2 separate regions of the Homo sapiens genome follow, and region 1 is linked to region 2. The links are contacts of gene promoters, found by promoter capture Hi-C in human tissues and cell types (Jung and others, 2019). All regions are on one chromosome and are shown on one strand. The core of a region is centred on a gene start or on the middle of the fragment in contact, and the rest is flanking DNA. Distances in the headings are between cores, read along the strand shown. Region 1 overlaps LOC124903465 (a long non-coding RNA gene). Region 2 holds the start of SPRED1 (sprouty related EVH1 domain containing 1).

Evidence for each region. Contacts are between HindIII fragments. The study calls those that stand out against the background at their distance.
Region 1: a contact is called between a fragment that was not itself captured here and the fragment with the promoter of SPRED1 in region 2, in 1 of the 25 tissues and cell types used here (dorsolateral prefrontal cortex).

Annotation. Positions count from the first base shown.
Region 1 is chr15:37,109,390-37,112,581 of GRCh38, forward strand. LOC124903465 (a long non-coding RNA gene) reads left to right here. Exons shown (of 2, transcript XR_007064581.1): 2 at 1-595. Among named protein-coding and RNA genes, the nearest start is that of MEIS2, 10 kb to the left of the region's middle. RefSeq lists a silencer at 979-1,028. The HindIII fragment of the contact is 4,400 bases long and covers 1-3,192 here.
Region 2 is chr15:38,251,489-38,254,517 of GRCh38, forward strand. SPRED1 (sprouty related EVH1 domain containing 1) reads left to right here and starts at 1,348. Exons shown (of 7, transcript NM_152594.3): 1 at 1,348-1,729. The coding sequence starts at 1,698. RefSeq lists silencers at 698-997, 1,008-1,057, 1,158-1,257, 1,438-1,497, 1,508-1,557 and 1 more. The HindIII fragment of the contact is 9,791 bases long and covers 1-3,029 here.

The sequences.
Region 1 (3,192 bases), core at 272-2,771, 1.1 Mb before region 2:
TACCCATCCTTCTTTCAAATAAGTAAATAAATAAAGAAATAGAAGTGCAAACCAAAGAAAGTTTCCAGCGTGCATCTGTACGTCTTCGTGTGCGAGTTTATAAACAACTTCCAGTCGGTACTTGGGTGTTACCTCCCTCCTGCCACACACCCCAAGGCAGAGGCATCGAGGGATCGCCCCCAGAGAGCTGTGTTTACTTAGCTTGTTTTAAAAAAAATCTCGCCGCCATGTATGACAAGTGTTACTGCAAGAAATTCATCAGCCTTCTACAGATACTTCCAGTTTTGCTGTAATGATCTGCAGAAGAGAACTGCCATCACTTTCTCACATCCCAAGGTGTTGCAGGAACTCAGAGAGAGGGGAGAGTGGCTGAAACGCTTAATTACCGGAGGCGAAGGAGGGGCGCGCGGGGGACCGAAGGAGAGGGGAGTGAAGAAGGAAGGTCCTTTACCAGGCTTGTACCTGGAGAAAGCTTTGAATCGCTTCTCTGCTATATTTGGAAAAGGTATGCTTGCTTTTTAAAAAAATGCCTTTAGGGCAAAGTGATACCCTTGTGTAATAATTAACTCAGACAATAAAAATAATTGGAAAATCAGTTGGAATTTCTGAGTTTTTAATTACGTTTAATTTCGTACTAAGCCGTAAAATTACGAATGCCCCTCAATTAAACACTCTCCTCTTGTAAAGCGTTTAACAACAATTATTCCTTAATCAGTCTGAATGTGAGTCACAAATGGTGCTTTTCCACATCAAAGAGACGTCCTTCCACGTTACCTTTTAGTCATAAGTAAGAGGATTAATTCCTATAATTAGAGGGATAAATATGTGCATAAATATATCTCTCACCCTCTCCTTAAAAAACAAAACAAAACACTTTCACTCTGTGTGATACGTGGCCGGCTATGGTAGGGTAAGTGTTTGTAATCGTCTGCCTCTGCCCGGCATCCCTTTGCTGACGGGTGACTGGAACGGAGGAGACGCCGCGCGAAGCGCAGGGCCCCAGAGGGACACATGCACAGAGGCGCACACACGGGTCAGGCAGGAGGCGCAGAGTTCGGGGGCCCGGGACTCCACCAATTCCAGTGCGATCCTCCCCAGACAATAACCCACCTCCCACCTTGGCCCTGCCCAGCGCAGCAAGACAGTTGTCTCCCTGTCGGTCTGCTTGTCCAGAAGAGCGGGGTCCCTGCCCTAAGCCCCAGCTCCAGCTTGACTCTTCAGGCTACAAATAAAAATTGAGCGTGACCTTTTAAAACTCCAGTGTGAATATCTCATTTACCTAATGACTTTATGTCACCTAGGAAGAAGGTCAATTTCCTCTTAACCTTTTCCCCGCTGCTGCAGTAAGCATTCTTCCCTAATCAATGGTGGCTGGAATAATCAATTCCCATTTTATGATCGCTGACAAACTCAATCTCAGGGCGGGGTGTGAGAGCTGGGGGTGAGCTGGCTCGGGCCGGGACAGAGGTCTCTCTGCGTACGCCCCGCTCCGCCCGGCGCCAAGGGAAGCCGCTGTCTCTTCCGTCGAGTTCTGAGACCTTGGCAAACTTCCCTCCCCCAACCGCCGGCGTGACTTCTGAGTTGTCACTAATCCGAACCTGATATTCACCAGAGCTCCTTCGGTCACCGACAACGCTCCCCGCTGCTGCCGCGGCCTCCCGCCCGCCCTCCTCGGCGTGTTTTCATTTCTAAGTCTACGGGCAGGGATTGCCCCGACCCAGTGTGTGTGTGCGTGTGTGTGTGTGCGTGGTTTCATTTACATTTTAAAAATCATTTTTGCGTTCTTCAGCGTGGATCTCAGCACTTTCCCTGTGTCTCAGGCCGACTAACTTTGCATAAACAAAGCAACAACCGAAGCTCATAGTGGGTGAAATCTTGCGGGGAAATGAAGGCAACCTGGTGGAGTTCGATCTCTCTCTCTCTCTCTCTCTCTCTCTCTCTCTCTCTCTCCCTCTCTCTCTCTCCCTCCTCTCTCTCTCCCTTCCCCACATTTCTTCCTCTTCTTTTACCTTCTTCCTCCACTCCCCCCTCCACCCCAAATTCAGCTATCCTAAACCATAGGTTTATCAGATACCACTTCCTCCTCTTTTTAAATTCTTCAGACCTGCCCCAGTCTGGGGAAATTACTGGGCAAATTACTAGATCAGAGCTATTTTGAAAGCTAATTTGGGGTAAACTCACCGTTCCTTATCTTTGCAGGGTTTAAATATGAGCCGCTCTCTGGTTCTAATCCCTCATAAAGTAGAAATTGACTTTTACACATGCAGGGCCTATTTGAAGGGGGGAGGTCTCTTAACACTGGTTCACCACGGGTCACTGGAAACTTCTCCCCCTTATTCCACCCTAATCCCGTTTTCACTCACTACCAAGACACTGAAGCCGCTGATGATTAAAGCAATCTCAAAAGTCTTGCTTAGCTAGGGTTCAATGGCAGGGAAATCATTTTCCTCAAAAAAAGACGTTCTGTAGCCAGGTTTTTGAAGATTTCCTATGAAGAGTCAATCTCTCAATACTGTATTACCCAGTTAGTTAAAAGGGAACCCCAAACTGAACTTTCTCTCCCAGAGCGCACTCTCAGGCCTGCCTTGCCTATGGGGATAATCTTTAAAAAGGTAATCAAACCATTCCTTTTCTTCATTCACAGATCCTCTTTACTTGTAGGCAGACATTCTGCTAAAATCGGAAAGTTTTCCAAATAATCAAAAACAAACATATAACTCTTCCACTTTTTATCCTTCACTCTGGTGTAAAAAGCAAACAAACAAAAAGGGCCTTTGAGTTCGAGGGGAGGGATATCTGGGCCACTGTTCACCCATGAAAGCTTCCTACATCCTGTTAGTAATGAAGATGGCAAATCATGGCACTTGCCTGAAACTTTCAGGTTCCATTCTTGCATTGAGCCTCAAGGTGCTAGAGTGTGAGGGGCAGTGAGAACATGCCAGGTTCAGGACCTGACCTGGGACAGAAGCACTGAGTTCTCAGTATTGTCATTTTCCTCTTGCTTCATACCAGGAAGTAGTTTTGCAACTCACACTGAGTTAGATTCGAGATTTAAACGGTTGTCGAAGGTTGGTCCAGCCCTGAGTCACAATTTATAACACCCTGGCTTTTAGAAGATTTGCCTCATATTCCCAACAACTGAGTTACAGACCATCTTAGACTACAACCTGTTTGTAGGCCAAAAAGTGCTTG
Region 2 (3,029 bases), core at 98-2,597:
ACACATACATTCTCATATTCTCTCTCTCTCTCTCTCACACACACACACACACACACACACACACACATACACTTCGTGCATGCAGCTAGGGGACTGCAGCAGTGCAACCAGGGGGACAGCAGGAGGAGCTCTCTTTGCAGTCCCTGCTTCTAACCCCCACTAACTAAAGATGAACTCATGCCAGTTCCATTCTTTGCTCTGCAAAGAAAACACACACACACACACACACACACACACACACACACACACACACACGGCAGAAGAGAGTAGCCTCCAGATTTCCCCTCTGAGCACACTGTCTTTCTAGCCTCTTCGTTCAAGCAACCCGGATATTCCAAGCAGAGTAACGGGGAGTAACGCGCCACAACAATGCAACCTCCCTAGCAGCTCCCCTCGCAGCTCCCACCCCCGCCCCCTTTCGCGGCGTGCCAAGAGTTTGGAGCGCGCGCACGCACACCGAGCACGGTGCAGGGAGGATATCCCTCCGCCTCCCTCCCCCTTTCTCCGCTAAGTGGCTCGACAACGATTTGGGAAATGAAGGGAGGAGGGAACTACTTTCCTGAAACTTGCTATGCTGCACATGACTTCGAGTTGCAGTGATTCGCCCGGAGGCCGCGGCTTTTAGTCCTACCCACACACCCTCACAGCCTGGGCACCCCGCTCGGCAGCCCCACCCCGCGCCCGCTCTGGCCTCCGGGGAAAGCGGGCGGCCGGGAGAAGTCGCGAGGGACTACTTCGCCTCCTTCTCTCGCGGGCGCCCCCGGTTCGGGCAGCGGCTGCGGCGGCGGAAGGAGCGGGCGGCGTGAGCGCTTCCGCCGCCCCCCTCGCGGCTCCCCTCTCTCGGGCGTGAGGAGCTGGCCCGCTGAGCTGCTGGTGGGCACTGGCTGGCGGGGAACCTGCAGCCGCTCTTGTCCTCTCCCGCCGCTTCTCGGGATCCTGCCCCCCGGACCCGGGCCCGCCCGCTCTTCTCCGGCCGGGTGGGAACGATCGGTTTGCCTGCCCCTCGCCTCACACGCTCCCCGCCGCCCCCTCCACCCCCCTGAGGAGGAGTCCCGGCTGGAGCGTGTCTGGAGGAATCCGCCGCCGCGGGGCCCCTAGCCCTGCTCTGCCGGCGCCTGAGGACCGACCCAGACGCCGCCGGGGGTTGAGGGGCAGCCGGCGGCGAGGCGGGAGATGGTGGGGTGGGCTCCGGCAGGACCGCGCCGCCGCTGCCCGGAGCCTGGGCTCGGCACCCCCCCGCCGGCCCCCACCGAGCGGAGCTCTGCTTCCTCCTCGCCGCATCCCTGAGGGAAGCGCCGCCTCTGCTCCCGGGTTCTCCGCCCGCCGACTCCTTCCTGGCCGGACCCCGCTGCGCTCCACCCCAGTGGCTGGAGGAGCAGCTCTCCAGTCAGCCTTTGCAGCCCCTCTCTTTTTCCCTTTCCACCGGGCCTCCTCGGATCCCTTGGCTGGGCACTGAGGCGGGGGAAGAGGCTGGGGTCGCCACGGCGGAGGTTGCTGCCGCCACCCCCCTGCGGGGGTGGCCGGGGTTCCCGGCTGGGGGGGTACCGTTCTGGGTGAGGCATCCACCATGGTGAGGCCCCTGTGCCGCTGCCCCCGCGCCCCCCCGGCCGCCGCTGCCTCCTGCCCCTCGGTGCTGCTGTTGCTCCCCCGCCTGCTGTTGCTCCTCCATCTCCAGATCGGATCACGGTGAGGGAAAGATGAGCGAGGAGACGGCGACTTCTGACAACGAGTAAGCGCCTCATTGATCTCGATTGCTAATCCCCCTCCCCCTATCCGCCCTCGGCTCTCCCCCAGACCCATCCGAAACTTGGGTGCCGGAAAGCTTGCGACCCTGGAGAGTTCGGTGCATCTTCTGGAGATAGCTGATTTCTTTAGCCATTTTTAGTGGCAGCACCCCTCCCCATCCTCCCACATTTAGCTGCTTTCTTTTGGGGTAGGGGATTAAGTGTTGGGAGAGGATGGCAATTGTACGTCTATGAGAGGGAATAATGTGGATGGATGGAAGTGGAGTAGAAACTACCCCTTTGCCTGTGAGACCCCTGTCCCGTCCTTTTTCACTCACATACCAGTCACCATACCTTCAGTATCCATCCTACTTCCTTTATAGCTGTTTCACTTGGAAACTAATGTGTGGGAGCACCTCCTGCAGCAAACTGCTCTTGAATCTTAATTCGATGAGTCAGTGACTCTTAAATACCGATTAAGCCTTCACCCTCTCCCCCCTCCCCCTTTTAAACTTATGACCTGTAAGATTCTTGTAAAAAATAGGGTTAGGGAAACATTTTTAGAATTTAATAGGATTAAGGACACCTGGAGTGTGGGCGATGTTGAGCTAGAGTTTACCTTTGTGAATATTGGACGTGTCTTCAGGAACGGAGAAGAATTTTGAATGCTAATTTTTACCTTTCAGCTATGTGAAAACACATGATTTACGTTGATGTAACCGAATTTACATTGCTGAATATGTTGGTGATTTCATTAACTTTTAGAGCATTCCGGTTTAAGTTTTAGCTTATTTGGGCTTTCTCCTTGCTTTCCAAACGAAATACTTCGTCTTTTAAATGTTTTGCTTTAACGTGACAGCTGCGTGGAGAAATAATGGTTGGCAACACTTTTCTATTGAGAAGGGATTTAATTCCAAGCAGAATATTAGCATCCGTTTTCTTGTAATTAAGTTCAACTTTTGTTTATCTTCGGAGGGTTGGAAAGAGTTAAGTGAGTTAGGACTTAGTCATTTGGATGCATTCCTTTAAATACAGTGCATTACTAAAGTCAGACCTTTTTGAAATAACTTTTTAAAGTCTGTACCGAGTCCTGTTTAACGTAAAATAGCTAGAGAAAGGCCAAACAACATTTCCTCCTCCCTTACTCCCTCCCCACCCCAAAACACACGCTTCTGCTGAGCGGGTGTAGAAGGAGGTACATTGCTGCAGTGTCAGTGCAGTGTAGAAGCAGAAGTGGCAGCCATGTTCTGTCTCTTTTTGTGAATCGCCCTCATTTGCATAGCACACTCTTCATTCATAAAAAAA